Regions from separate parts of the Homo sapiens genome. Here region 2 is linked to region 1. The links are contacts of gene promoters, found by promoter capture Hi-C in blood cells and fetal thymus (Javierre and others, 2016). All regions are on one chromosome and are shown on one strand. The core of a region is centred on a gene start or on the middle of the fragment in contact, and the rest is flanking DNA. Distances in the headings are between cores, read along the strand shown.

Region 1 (7,770 bases), core at 2,512-5,011:
CTGTTTCTCCTTTCCTTCTGAGGAAGCGGAAGGGGAAGAGTTAAGCCAAATAGAAACAAGACTCACCACCACACACTTCTCCCCCCAGCCGGGGAGGCTCTGCGGGTGCAGTGTACAGGAAGACCCTAACACACTGAGATCTACTTGCCCTCCCTTCCCCCTTGTGCCAGGCCCTGTGAATCATCAGGGATGCCCCCAGTTCTGTGATTCCATGACCCCTGACCCACTCAGGGCCAGTGAATCAGGCCCCACCTGCCCTCTTCGTGCTGCTATGTAAACCAGTGAGGTCAAGTTCCCAAGGTTAGTCTGGAAACGGCTAGTCATCTTCCAGGAGAGATCTCAGCCCTCTCAAGAAAAGGCCCCCATAGGGCAAGGGACAAGGGGTGGGGGGGTTGGGGGGATGGAAGGGAGCCGGTTTCAGCACAGGATCCTCCAGGCACCAACCCTGCCTGGACAAAGCCAGGATTAGCCTCTCCTCAGCCAGAAAAAGGGACACTTTTCTTTTGTCCCACTGATGTGGCACCTGCCCCCTTGGAGGCTGGGACCCCAAGGCAGTTTCTGGGAGACATGCAGACCTGGAGTCAGGAGACAGCTCTTTAAATCCCTGCTGAGTGATCTTGACCTTACCTCCCCTGAACCTCAGCTTCCTCATCTGTAAAGTGGAGCCAACAGGCTCTCGCATTCAGTGGAACAGGCACAAGCTGCCAGATGTGCCGGATTTTTTATCTCCCCCGCACCGCTCTCCCTTAACAAGTCTAGCTGTGTGAGAGCTCAACTTAATGCAACATGCGGGTTCCAAGGGCCTACAGTATGCTGGACACAGTGCAAGTCCTGGGGCCACAGGACCCTGTTCTGGTCCATCAGGGACTCTGGGTCTGGTGAGGAAGACTGGCAGATAAATAATACCATGCTGTGATCAGCGCTTTCAGGGAGGAATGAACAAAGGACCGTGGGCTCCCAGAGAAGGGATCATCTGACCCAGGCTGGAATGAGTGAAGTCAGAAAAGCCACAGGGAGGAGGGGCCATCTGACCCTGGCCTTGAAGAGTCAGCATCTATCAGCTGGAGGCAAGGAGGGTGGGCATTACAGGGAGGCAAAAGAGCTCCAAAGAAGGCCCAGCCCAAAGGCATGCACAATGGCCCTACCCAGGGGGCCTGGTCCCAAACACCAGGTACTAGGCCTCCGGAGCATAGTTGCCCCCAGGCATGGTCCCTGCTGGCTCCCAAGTCAAGGGATGCTTCCTCATGGCCAATACAGGAAAGGAATTGCCAGCGTCAGCAAAGGACGCTGCCTCTGTCTTCCTCAGCTCCGTCTCCCCTGTTCCCCCACCCAGCCACCATCTACTGGAGCTCTGTTCAGAGGACCCAGCTTTCTGATCTCTGAGCCCACTCCAGCCTCTGCCTCCCTCTGATAAAATCCTCCCATCGCTTTATAGGCCCCATTAACTGTCAGCTCCTCAGAAGCCGCCCCTGGTCTTTTTCTCCCTCTAGTTCCCAGATCTATACATTTCTCTAGATTTAATGCTTGCCATGTAACACACACACACTTCCAGACTGGTTTTCCTGAGCAGACCAGGTCTGAGCCTTTTTCACTCTTGAATCTTCACTCAATAAATCCAGACCCTGCCCCCAGTGTCCTCCACTCCAGCATTTTATTTATTGGCAAAGAGCCAGGCTCTATCCAATGACTAGTAAGCCACTTCAACCATCCTCAGGCAACTTATGAAATTAAAAATCATAACTGGTGAACTATGTTGTCCTTACATAATAGTAATAACTTTTTATTTATTTATTTTAGAAACAGGATCTCACTCTGTCCCTCACACTAGAGTGCAGTGGCACAACCATATCTCGTTGTAACTTCAAATTCCTGGGCTCAAAGGATCCTCCCACACGTACCACCATGCTCAGCTAGTTTTTTAAATTTTTGTAGCGATGGGGTCTCACTATGTTGCCCAAGCTAGTTGCAAACCCCTGGCCTCAAGCGATCATCCTGCCTTGCCTCCCAAAGTACTAGGATTAATGCATGAGCCACTGCACCCAGGCAACTCACTTTAATTTATTGAGCATTCTTGTGCCTAGCACTGGTTTAAGACCTAAACATACAATATTCCATTCAATCCTCACAACTCTATGAAGTAGAGACATTCCTACCTCCATTTTACAAGTGAGGAAATTGAGGCACTGACTTCATCAAGGTTACCAAACAGGTCAGAACCCAGGCAGTCTGATCCAGGAGTCTGTATTCTCAGCTACTATGCTATTATGGACAGGGTGCTACAGGACACAGAAGGGCAATTAACCTTGGGGGTTAGGCGGAGGCAGCGCTGCCTGCGCTGAAAAACATGTAGAAGGTAGCCCAGCAGACAAGAGAAGGAGGAGGTTTCCAAGCAGCGGGGGCTGGTGTGTGCAAAGTCATGAAGATACGAACAGCAAGGGTAGGCATGGCGCATGCTGCAGTGCCGTATTATTGGACCTTAGGGTGCACACAGGAGACTGCTAGGTCAGATCACAGAGAGCTGTGTAAATTGTGCTAGGGGTTCAGCACATAGGCAATAGAAAGCCAGAAAAAGGTTATCAGCAAGGAACTGGCACCGTAAGACTTGTGTTCTAAAAGGATCACAAGAGTTACAGTTTGGAGACTGGGTTGCAAGCTGCCAGGGCTGGACTGTTGGGAATTGACAATACATCAACAGCGTGGTAACAGAAGAGATGGAGCTGGCCCAGGTTTGAAGGATGTTCAGGAAGTTGGCAGTACTAGGTCACTTTTAAGATGTGGGACTTGAAAGAGAGGAGAAAGTGTAAGGAAATTACCAGACTTCCGGCTGGGTTGGGGTAGAGGAAGAATTAATCTGCAAGGAAAAGACCAGTTCAAGTTTGGACCCAGTGAGCTCCATGTGAAGCAGAGCTGTCCCAATGGCCGCTGGATGGGCAAGCGTGGAGCTCCAGGGAAGGGCTGCGCTGAAGATGTGGATCTGGGTATTTAGTTGGTGTAAAGCTGAAGCCGTGGGGGAAAATAAGACCACTGAGATTCAGTGTACAGAGCGAGGGGTTGGGCGACAGAGGAAAACGTGAAGCGGGACTTTGACCGACTGTCAGAGCGGTACGAAGAAAACCAGGAGACATTGACTAACCCAAAAATGCGGGGTGAGGGAACGTGTCATTAGAAATGAGTGTCAATGGTACTATGCACCTCTAAGAACTCAAGACTTCAAAGGGCCCTTTTAATACCAATTAGGAAGTTATTCACGGCCGTTTCGAAAGGAAGTTGGGGAGACACGGGATGACACTGAGACGCAGAGCTACCGGAATGCGTAGATGTTTTCCTCTCACCCCAGATTCCGACCCCTCCCCATACCTGCCCCTGCTCATAACACCCAGACACCTCACCCTCTCCTCTCCCCTCAGTTAAGACGGAGGCTTTGGAAGGAGATCCCGAACGTCCTCCCCGGGCTCCCCAGGATAGGCGGGGTCGCCAAGAGTCATTGCTGGAGACCCCAACCCGCGCGGGGCGGCGCGAGGCCAGACAGAGGAAGGGGGCGGAACCTGAGACGCAGCGGGTGTGGGAAGGGTCGGACGGAACCCAGCACGGACAGCGGGCGGCGAAGCGGGTTCGACCGGCGGAAGACGGCCCTCGCACGCCACCCGCTCCCAGCGACCGCTCCGGGACCCACCTGCTCCATGTCAGCCACGGCCCCGGCTCTTCCCGCCCCAACCGCAGTCCGGCTCCGCGGCCTCAGTAGCGCCTCAGAGCGGAAGAAGATCTTCCGGCAGCGCCACTTCCGCCGCTGAGTCCGCCCCCGAGAGCGAAGCGGGACTTGCGTTCGCCTGCGGCCCCGCCCCTTCGCCCCGCCTCCAGCCCCGGCCCTGCGCAGAAGCGGACTCAAAGGCCGGAGTCTAAGGGCCTACCTAAGGGTAGGGGAGTGGGAAGAAGACCAGGGCCGTCGTTATTAGGCCACACAGGCCTGGCACTGAGGGAAAAAGGGGAATTTCCCGAGGGGAGTCCTGTGGGGATGGGGAAATCTTTGGAGGAATCCAGTTATTCGAGAAGGACTTCCCCACCCCACCTGCCTCCTTCAGCCATCCCAAGCAGCAGCTAGAACTTCTGTAGTTCTTCCTCTGAGTGCCCCGAGCCTGCTGTCTGCCAGAAAGACTCCTAGACTAGAGGATTGGACAGTAGGGTCAAAACCCTAACCCTTGGTTGACCACCGGCCTTCCCTATCAGGACGCCCCATTACCTCCCTTTTCCTCCTGCTTCCCCTGAAAGAGGAGTCTCAGCAGTTATTTACAAAGATTTATTACAGCACGGGAGGGGTTCAGGCCTGGAGTCAGGGAAGAAGGGGAAAGGGGCAGAGCAGCTGGGGGACAAGGAAAACCTGGCGCCCCCCGCTGTGTGCCCCACCGGGGACATAAACTAGGCGGCATTCCTGGCATCAAAGCACAAAACGCAACAAAGAGGTCTCTGCCAGTCCATCTTCCAGGCACCCAGGAGGAGCAAGGGTGATTAAGGGAAGATTCCCAAAATGTTGAGGCTATGGAGAAAAACGCCTTAGTCCTGGACCCTGGTAGAAGCCGGTGAGAGAAGTGGTGACTTGGAATCCTCCATAGGAAAGTGGGTAGAAAAGGATCTAAGGGTACCTCAAGGTTCTCAGGACCTCCTTTCCCCAGATCTTAGGGTCCTGCCCTGTGGGTCTCCTGTGTCCAGGGGAGAGGATCTGGGGAGTAGAATTGTGAAGGGCAAATCCCTGTTCCCGGTTTTCTGGATTTTCCAATGTGGGCTGTCTCACATCCCACCTCCCGCTGGGTGAATGGAGGAATGACTGGCAGGGGTGGGCATCAGGCAGCAAGTGCCCAGGTTCTCTGGGTATCAGCCAAAGGTGGGCAAACAAGCAAACACAGACCAGCCTTAGTCTTCTAGAAGTCAGAAGCCGCAGCCCTAGCAGGCGAGGGGAAGAGCACAAAACAGGGTGAGGATAGAGTGGGTTTCTGGGGAACAGCGATGTCCCCTCCACTTCCTCCTGGGAGATGCAGGCTGGGTGCCTATGTGCCAGGCTCAGAGGGGGAAGGGCGCTGAGGTTCCTCCCCAGGCTCTGAAAGGCAAGCAGAGAGGGACTCAGGGCCTGGCCCCACCCACCAAGATCCCAGCCCCTCCTCCCCATTTCACACTCCCAAGCCTTACCACTTAGTGCTGGGTCTTCCACTTGGTCCTCAGAGCCTCCATCTCTCTCGGACTCATCCAGAGGGGGTGGGCGCTCCCAGGGCCCTTCCAGACCCTGGCCACAGGTTGTCTTTTGCCCAGCTGGGGATGGGAAAGAAGAGATAAGAACACAGGCTCTGCGTATCCATCCGGCTGTCCTGGAGTGTGAGCTAAGTGTCTGATGGCTGAGGTTAAGCTTTCCAGGGGCATCATGGAAGCATGGAGAGAGAACTGGGCTAGAACAGCTCTCCCAGCAACTAGCCATATGGCTTACGTAAGTCAGTTAGTACCTTTCTGAAGGAAATAGAAAGGGGGAAATTGTGTAGATTACCTTAAACAAGATGTAATAGTGAATACCCTGCCCAGCCCAGCGCCAGCACCCAGGAGCCACTAGGAGTCGTGGTGGTTTATATTGCTCCATCATAGGACTATCATTTGACCCGGTGCCCTTCTGCATTTTTTGTTTGTTTGTTTTTTTTTGTTGTTTTGTTTTGGTTTTTTGTTTTTGTTTTTGAGATGGAGTCTCACTCTGTTGCCCAGGCTGGAGTGCAGTGGTGCGATCTCAGCTCACTGCAACTTCCACCTCCCAGGTTCAGGGGATTCTTCTGCCTCAGCCTCCCAAGCAGCTGGGATTACAGGTGTGTGCCACTGTGCCTGGCTAATTTTTGTATTTTTATTACAGATGGGGTTTCACCATGTTGGCTGGACTGGTCTTGAACTCCAGACCTCAAGTGATCCGCTAGCCTTGGCATCCCAAAGTGCTGGAATTACAGGCATGAGCCACCGCACCCAGCCACCTGCTGCTTTTCCTGAGGGAACAGTCTCCTCTCACCCCTCTTCCACTGTTTTGGAGGGGTCTCAGTGAGGACTGATTCAGGTCTTCCAGCTGTCTCTTGCCCACAAAGGGACTGAAGCCCAGCAACAGCTTTTGCCCCCATGGCCAATCTCTTCACTGCCAGATATGCAGGCAGGAGGCCCAAGGCCTTTTGTTTGTGTGGAAGAGCTGACAGCTTCTAGTAGGGGTGGTTGACTCTTCAGTATTCCCATAAATAATGAGACTAAAAAGGTTAATGGGCCGGGCTGGTTCTTGAATTTTAAATTCTACATCTAAACACTAGAGGGCACCCTCCCACTCCATCCTAGGAAGGAAAAAGAGGAGAAACAGACAACAGTCCTGGAGAGGGCAAGTAAATGAGGCAGCCCTCTGCACCCCAGCAGAGACCACATCCTAGGTTCAAAAATGTAGGTGAAATGCAGGTGACAGGGGTGTTGGACTCTCCTGGTCCTCCATCCCTGAATGTCCTCACGCCCCCTTACTGCCATAGGTGGGAAGTCCTCTTTTGGCTCTAGCCTCAAACCCCAAACGGCCTTGGCCTTAATTCTCAGGGAAGAGAGGAATTATTAGGGAAAACCTGATTGGGAGAGGGACTGAGCCAAGGATGGAGGAAACCCATGTCTCAGGTAGGGCTGAGTTCGGGGCACCCCATGGAGCGAGAAGACAGGGAGGCCCCTGTGGTGTCACTACAGTTTGCGTGTATGAGACACTGAACTAGAAGGGGACGTCCTCGTATACTCAAGGAGGACCCACAGCTAATCCACATGTCACAGGCCCCTCAGCTTACCAGACTGCCTGATGACCTTCAGGACTTCAGCCTGGCTGTCCTCTTCTTCTTCCTCTTCTTCATCATCCTCCTCTTCCTCCTCATCTTCCTCTCTTGGATAACCCAGCTCCCGAAGCTCCCCCAGCTCATCCTCCTCCTCTGAGGCCTGGTTCTCATTCAAATTGCTGATAGACTGCAGGTGAGACTCAGCAATGCGCTGCACAGCTGGCACAGAGGAGACCGAGGAAAGCAAGGGTCAGCTAGACACAGCCCATGGATCTGGAGATAGCCTGTGGCCTAGCCCCCAGCCTCCTTCCCGTAGGCCTGGGGCAGAGAATACCCCCTCAGGGGCCCAAGTTCAAAGGCCAAAGTTGACAGGTCAGCCTGATGGGTGTCAGACCAGGGCAGAGGCAGCCAGGGGTAGATTTGATCATGTTTGGCTCTTAAGCTGTCCTAAGATGCTAGCCCCCAGGCAGCTCCCCCACACCATAGGGCACTAGGCTGGGCAAGACCAGGCGGGCACAGCAGCAGCTTAACATTCCCTGGCTGGAGAGCTTGATTTTCCAAGTACCCAGTACGGGAGACAGTGTCTCCCAGCTTCAAGCCCAGGCAGAAGGCACAGGGCGTAGGAACCAGGGCCTGGGGATTTGCCACTTTCCATTTCTTGGGGGTGCCCAGCCTGCTGAGGGCTCACTGCTTACCCTGATCCTACCTCCCATGCGATGCATAGTCCCCACTCCCTGGCACTGCCCAGTCATAGATGCCAATCCACATACTCCTGCCCCGGGCTCCAAGGGACAGAACAATTCCGAGGCTGAGGACATAATAGTCTGCAGCCAGTGCAGTCTGTGCCGGGGGATGCGGCATGCTCAGATGCGGCCCCCACAATCTTGACCCACATCCCCAGGTTCCCAGCTCCCTCTGCGGTGACCTAGAAAGCAACCCCCCCAGCCTCCAAAGACCTGCTCAGATA
Region 2 (7,529 bases), core at 985-3,484, 250 kb before region 1:
CGTGGGAGTACATGCAGCGTTTCTTTTTGAACTCCATAGGCATGTCTCTCTTTTTTTTTTTTTTTTTTTTTGAGACGGAGTTTCGCTCTTGTTGCCCAAGCTGAGTGCAATGAGTGATCTCAGCTCACTGCAATCTCCACCTCCCGGGTTCAAGTGATTCTCTTGCCTAAGCCTCCTGAGTAGCTGGGATTACAGGTGCCTGCCACCAGGCCCAGCTAATTTTTTTTTGTATTTTTAGTAGAAACAGGGTTTCACCATGTTAGCCAGGCTGGTCTTAAACTCCTGACCTCAGATGATCCACCTGCCTCAGCCTCCCAAAGTGCTGGGATTACAGGCGTGAGCCACTGTGTCCGGCCAGGCATCTGTCTCTTTAGGATGGTTGGGGTGGTAGTTCTACCTTCAAGAGGGAAACATTTCCTTCTTAGGGGGACATAATCACTTTAGAATCCTACCACTAAAATGTTCATACTCTCTTTCTCACTTTTATGAAGTTCTACTGTTTCAAAATGAGATGTGCTATTATGGAAAAGAATAATGCATTAGCCTATTTCAGGGTAACCTAGTCATTAACCTGTGTGCCCAGTTTTTTTTATGCCGACAGAATAAAACTATCCAAACAACAGAGATTCATCCTCACTGGAATAGACACATATTCTGGATGTGGGTTTGCCTTCCCTGCTCATAATGCTTCAGCCAGCGCTGCCACCTGTGAACTCACAGAATGCCTTATCGACCATCATGGCATTCCACACTGCATTGTGTCTGATCAGGGAACTCACTTCACTGCAAAGGAAGTGAAGCAGTGGGCTCATGGCCGTAGAATTCGCTGGTCTTACTCCACTCCCCATCACCTAGAAGCAATTAGCTTAACGGAAAGGTGAAATGGCTCACTAAAATCTGTTACAGTGTCAACTGGGAGACAACACCCTGAAAGAAATGGGTTCTGCTTTACAGGATGCAGTTTAGGTTTTGAATCAGAGGCCACTATCTAGTGCTGTCTCCCTCATAGCCAGGATAGTCCAGGAATCAAAGAGTGGGTGTAGGAGTGGCTCCTCTCACTATTCCACCCAATAACCCACTAGAAGAATGTTCGCTCTCTATCCTGGTAACTTTGAGCTTTGATGGTTTGGAGATCTTTGTTCCCAAGAGGGGGATGCTTCCACAAGGAGACACCACAATGGTTCTTCCCTGGTTTGGAAGATGAGACTGTCACCTGGACATTTTGGGCTCCATATGTTGTTGAACTAAGCAGGGAAAAAAGGGGATGAGGTGAGAAAGGAGAGTTAATCTGGCTGGAGAGAATGATCCTGATGACCAATGGGAAACTGAGTTGCTACACAAGGGTAGAAAGGAGGACTATGTCTGGAACCCAGATTCTCTGAGGTACCTCTAGTTCTTCCATCTTCAATAGTAAAGGTTGATGGAAAACTACGTAGCAACCAAAAAACAGGTGTGGGGAGGAGAAGGGGTAAGAACAATAAAGATTCAGACACTTTGGCAATAAAATTTCAGTCATTCCACCACATAAAGAACCCACAGCAACTGAAGTTCTGACTGAGGGCAAGAATAACACGGAATTGGCTTCCCGCAGAAGGAAGCCATAGGTATAAACTACAACCTTAATGACCAATCACAGAAACAAAGTAGCTTTGCATATTTTCTCTTTGCTTCTTGTATTCACACCTTTATTTATTTATTTATTTATTTTGAGACAAAGTCTTGCTCTGTCGCCCAGGCTGGAGCACAGTGGCACAATCTCAGCACACTGCAACCTCTGCCTCCTGGGCTCAAGCGATTCTTCTGCCTCAGCCTCCTGAGTAGCTGGGATTACAGGTGTGTGCCACCACACCTGGCTAATTTTTGTATTATTAGTAGAGACGGGATTTCACCATGTTGGCCAGGCTGGTCTCTAACTCCTGACCTCAGGTGATCCACCCGCCTTAGCCTCCTGAAGTGCTGGGATTACAGGTGTGAGCCACTGTGCCCAGCCAATACCTTTATTTTAATATGCTATCCTTCTTCTCTCTCCTTTCCAGTTTTTAATATACAGATTGTTGGTAGATAATTTTACAGTTTAGTCTTTAGGTAAGAATATTCAGTGGAACTGTGACTGAATTTGAGAAGTATTTAAAATAGCAATAGAAACAATGACTGTTGGGACTACATATCTTTACATTTTGGGGAAACAGCAAGTACTTTTAAGATGGATAGATGTATCTTCTTAGAATATAAAATTGTGGCCAGGTGAGGTGGCTCACGCCTGTAATCCCAGCACTTTCAGAGGCTGAGGCGGGAGGATCACTTGAGCCCAGGAGTTTGAGATCAGCCTGAGTTCTAGAGAGAGAACTTGTCTCCACAAAAAAATTTTAAAAATTAACTGGGTGTGGTGGCACGTGCCTGTAGTCCCAGATACTTGTGAGGCTGAGGCAGGAGGATCGCTTGAGCCCAGGAGTTCAAAGCCTGCAGTAAGCTATGATTGTGCCACCGCACTTTAGCGGGAGCAACAGAGACCTTGTCTCAAAAAATAAAAATTGTTTTGTCCATGAACAAGAGTTCAAATGTGTATAGAAAGGTGCATGTGGACGTCAAATAGCCAAAAGGTTAGACTGTGACAGTTAGCAACTTATTGTCTCTCAGCTCCAAATTCATCCTTTTTGCCTGCTCTATGAAAATGAATCTGGGCTCTGATAATATTTTTCCTTTGCCAGCTGGCACAACAATGAACTGTCAGAAAGGGGTGCTGGAGAGACACTGTAGGTTCTGAGTTCTTGCTTTGGCAGGCTCTGGTAGCATGTTCAACTTCTCCATTGTCCATACCCTGCAGTGCCTGGTGGCTAGCAGCACCACTGACAACTCCTCCTCCTTCTGTGGATTTATTTATTTATTTAGAGATGATGTGTCACTGTTGCCCTGGAGTGCAGAGGCACAATCTGGCTCACTGCCATCTCTGTCTCCTGGGTTCAAGCGATTCTCCTGCCTCAGCCTCCCAAGTAGCTGGGATTACAGGCACCCACCACCACACCCAGCTAATTTTTGTATTTTTAGTAGAGACAGGGTTTCACTATGTTGGCCAGGCTGGTCTCGAACTCCTGACCTCAAGTGATCTGCCCACTTTGGCCTCCCAAAGTGCTAGGATTACAGGCATGAGCCACCACGCCTGGCCTCCTTCTGTGGTTTTATAGCAGAGTGTCTCTAGTGAGAAACTTCCCTATGTACAGCTTTTCCTGGCACCGCAGAGGGTGGGTCTCTGACAAGTTCTAGAGAGTGTATTTTTAGCACGACAATGACTTTTCTTCCATCTGGTGACCCATGGTTATGCTCATTTTAACAAGCTGGACCTCAGCCCTAGGGGATGGTGGATTTTCTTAGACACTCTCAGTCCTAGTGGTATTGCCTTAAAAATATATGTATATCTGTTATTCCTCTATTCTTTAGAGTTCTCCTTACATCTTACTAGGCAATTCCTTATTATTCCAATCCCTTGTTACATTTAATAATTCCTCATATTAAACTTCCTCTAATCAAATTACTGTGTATTTTCTGTCTCGAGATTGGACCCTGACTGATGCACATACAGTTAATAGATGGAAAATAATACATATTGCCATATTAATGTAGTGGAATAGAGGAGGAATGGAATCAAATCTTCATGTGTTAACAGAATTTTTTAAAATATGGGTAAAGAAAGTTGCAAAGCATACGCATTACACCTTTGATGTAAAAATTAAATGATTACAAAACTTAAGGCCGGGCGTGGTGGCTCATGTCTATAATCCCCAGCACTTTGAGAGGCCGAGGTGGCAGATCACCTGAGGTCAGGAGTTCGAGACCAGCCTGGGCAATACAAAAATTGGCTGGGCATGGTGGTGCGCCCCCTGTAATCCCAGCTACTCAGGAGGCTGAGGCAGGAGAATCGCTTGAACTTGGGAGGCGGAGGCTGCAGTGAACTGAAATCATACCACTGCACTCCAACCTGGGCAACAAGAGCAAAACTCAGTCTCAGAAAAAACAAAAACAAAAACAAAGACAACCCCCACCCAACAACAACAAAAAACTTACATGGGAGGGATACCTACCAATTTCAGAGTGGTGATTAATTCTTGGGGGGGATAAGAGAATAGTGGTAGAAGAAAAGTATAAAGAGGCTTTAAATGAACCTGTAATGTTTTGTTTTTAAAGATGTGAAGTAAACAAAAAACTGTAAGAATATAATGAAAATGAAAGGCAAGAGTCCATAATCTGCAACTGAAACAATTTGGCAGAAAAAGGTCAGCCTAGATTACATTTGGACATCTTCTCTTCTGGATATTCTGAGCAGGTTAATACACAGGTAACCTAAGAACACATATCTTGGTAAGAATTTCAGGATAGTCTGCTTTGCAGCTGATAAGAAAGCCTAAGGTAAGATAAAAATGTCCGGTGACAACACACAGGCTCTTACAAGAGATTTTATTAATCATTGATTAGAAAGGTACATAAACTGTTAGCCTTTTATTCCCCAATAATACCTCTGATAGGCTAGCTAATATGTCCATAGAGGCTAAATGTTTGTGCTCTTGAAAGTTTGTAATCAGTGATTTTCTTATACTTCAATAAACTAATGCTTTCACATACGACCAGAAAATTTTACTAAATCTGAACTAAGTAGATCCATTAGTTTTTCTAACTGCTTCAGACAGAAACATTTACAATACATGAAGATATGGCACCTGCAGTTCAAAGCATTAAGCTATTAACACCACATACATGCCAAAATGGTTGTTGAAACAAGCAAATGAAAACCAAATGTTCATTAGTTTATTAATAATACACTAGTGTTGGAAAATACTCTTGCAGAAGTACAAAATACAAAATTCTCAATACTGACTCTTTTGGTAGGTACAATCCTGTGAAATGTGACTTCTAAGTACTACAAATGTACACATACAGAATCAAGATGAAAAAGAGGGAGGCCAGGTGCGGTGGCTCATGCCTGTAATCCCAGCAATTTGGGAGGCCAACGTGGGTGGATTGCCTGAGCTCAGGAGTTTGAGACCAGCCTGGGCAACACGGTGAAACCCCAACTCTACTAAAATACAAAAAATTAGCCAGGCATGGCGGCGTGCGCCTGTAATCCCAGCTACTCGGGAGGCTGAGACAGGAGAATCGCTTGAACCCGGGAGGTGGAGGTTGCAGTGAGCCGAGATTGTGCCACTGCACTTCAGCCTGGGCAACAGAGGGAGACTCCATCTCAAAAAAAAAAAAAAAAAAGGGAAAGGGTGGGATTTTTTTCAGCAGCAAATTGTAGGAATGCTGTTACAACTTCTGTTTCCATTGAATAAGTCAGAAGATATAATAACTTTGTTGCCATTTTAGGGCTTTGTGTCTCTGCTAATGAGATAAAGAATATTACATTCATTTAATTTTGTTGTTAATGGGTTAACATTTGCAAAATATTAATTCAACACAAGCTTTTAATTCTACTGTGTTATAATATTTAAATAGTTTACTATGGATCGGGGTTAGGGGATGGAAAAAGTGTGAATCAATGTATCAAGGGGCAAATATTATCTCTCTCTCTCTCTCTTTTTTGAGACAGAGTTTCATTTTGTCACCCAGGCTGGAGTGCAGCGGTGCGAGGATGTCAGTTCACTGCAACCTCAGCCTCCCAGGTTCAAGCAATTCTCATGACTTAGCCTCCCAAGTAGCTGGGATTACAGGTGTGTGCCACCACATCTAGCTAATTTTTTTTTTTTTTTTTTTTTTTTTTTAGTAGAGATGGGGCTTCGCCATGTTGGCCAGGCTAGTCTCAAACTCCTGGCCTCATGTGATCCGCCCACCTTGGCCTCCCAAAGTGCTAAGATTACAAGCGTGAGGCACCATGTCTGGCTTTTTTTTTTTTTTTTTTGAGACAGGGTCTCACTCTGTCGCCCAGGCTGGAGTGCAGTGGTGTGATCTTGGCTTGGCTCATCGCAACCTCTGCCTCCTGGGCTCAAGCGATCCTCCTACCTTAGCCTCCCAAGTAGCTGGGACTACAGGTGTGTGCTATCACACCCAGCTAATTTTTGAATTTTTTTGTAGAGACAGGGTTTCATCATGTTGCCCAGGCTGGTTCTGAACTCCTGGGTTCAAACAATCTGCCTGCCTCAGCCTCCAAAAGTGCTGGGAGTACAAGCATGAGCCACCATGCCTGGCTGCAAATATTCTCAAGATTCAAAATAAGTAGCAAGTAGGATATAACCACAAGTTTACCTCTGAATGCAGATTCAATTTAATCAGTTCAATTACTTATTACAGCTATAATGCATAGAAATGTGGGGGGCATTCAAAGGTTAGTATGAGGAAGTTCCTGCTCACAGGAGTTTATTCTAGTAGGGGATGGTGGGGAAAGGATACAGAAGATAGAAAAGACATTAAACCTAGATTCAGTGCTGGAAGAGATATTATGGATTTAATATAATCCTTTCATTTTACAAATAATGAAAGAGGCTTAAAAATGTTAAATGACCAGTCTGGGCAACATAGTGAGGCCTCATCTCTACAAAAAAAATTTTTTTAATCAGCCAGGTGTAGTGGCACATGCCTATAGTCCCAGCTACTCCAGAAGCTGAGGCAGGTGGATTGCTTGAGCCCAGGAGGTCAAGGCTGCAGTGGGCTGTGATCACACCACTGCACTCCAGCCTGGGCAAGGCAGCAAGATCCTGTCTCAAAAAAAAAAAAAAAAAGAAAAAGAAAAAGAAAAAAGAAAAAAAGTAAATTGTAACAAAAATGTGGTTCCATGCTAAAATTAGCAGTAGCAGACAATACATTTATGGAAGAAACTGATCAGTGTGGGTAGAAGTGTTGTGAATAACGTGGAAACAAAGATGGAAGGGCATTCTACATATGAGGAATAAGTGTAGTCTGTCTAGGAGAAAGCAAGATGAGTCTTGTTACAGAAAAGGGTTCAAACTGAAAAGACCTTTACATTCTTAGAGCTGGAAGAGAACTTAAGAGATTTAGTCCAATCTGTCCCCCAGTGTAGAATGATAGGAATCAAGGTGGAAAGGTCAATGGAAACCAGACCGTAGAAGGCTTTGGATGCCAATTTTGGGTTTAATCTTTTATGCCAGGGGTTGCCAGCCTCTTTTCCCCTCCTTTAGGAAGCTTTTTTTTTAAGACTTCCCCCCACAATTGCCTTCCCATGAAATTTTAATACCACAGATAAACTGTGTATCTGCTTGTGTAACGTGTGATCCTTTTTTTGTGTGTGTGACAGAGTCTCCCTGTTGACCAGGCTGGAGTGCAGTGGCACAATCTTGGCTCACTGCAACCTCCACCTGCCGAGTTCAAGTGACTCTCTTGCCTCAGCCTCCCAAGTAGCTGGGATTACAGGTGTGCGCCACCAAGCCCAGCTAGTTTTTGTATTTTTAGTAGAGACAGGGTTTCACCACGTTGGCCAGGCTAGTCTCAAACTCCTGATCTCAGGTGATCTGCCCGCCTTGGCCTCCCAAAGTGCTCTGATTACAGGCATGAGCCATTGTGTCCAGACTCGTGTGACCCTTTGAAGA

What was found. Contacts are between HindIII fragments. The CHiCAGO score rates a contact against its expected background, and 5 or more counts as called.
Region 2: a contact is called between a fragment that was not itself captured here and the fragment with the promoter of STARD3 in region 1, in 1 of 17 cell types (activated CD4 T cells). The highest score is 5.7, in activated CD4 T cells.

What each region holds. Positions count from the first base shown.
Region 1 is chr17:39,633,135-39,640,904 of GRCh38, reverse strand. It overlaps STARD3 (StAR related lipid transfer domain containing 3), which reads right to left and starts at 3,761. Exons shown (of 15, transcript NM_006804.4): 1 at 3,674-3,761. It overlaps PPP1R1B (protein phosphatase 1 regulatory inhibitor subunit 1B), which reads right to left. Exons shown (of 7, transcript NM_032192.4): 5 at 6,819-7,022; 6 at 5,179-5,298; 7 at 4,281-5,089. The coding sequence ends at 5,040. LOC124903998 (a long non-coding RNA gene) reads left to right here and starts at 3,615. Exons shown (of 2, transcript XR_007065749.1): 1 at 3,615-3,914; 2 at 5,879-6,267. RefSeq lists enhancers at 3,090-3,209, 4,993-5,616, 7,704-7,770 and a silencer at 3,750-3,819. The HindIII fragment of the contact is 16,133 bases long and covers 1-5,394 here.
Region 2 is chr17:39,886,362-39,893,890 of GRCh38, reverse strand. No RefSeq gene overlaps it. Among named protein-coding and RNA genes, the nearest start is that of ZPBP2, 22 kb to the right of the region's middle. The HindIII fragment of the contact is 6,437 bases long and covers 1-5,452 here.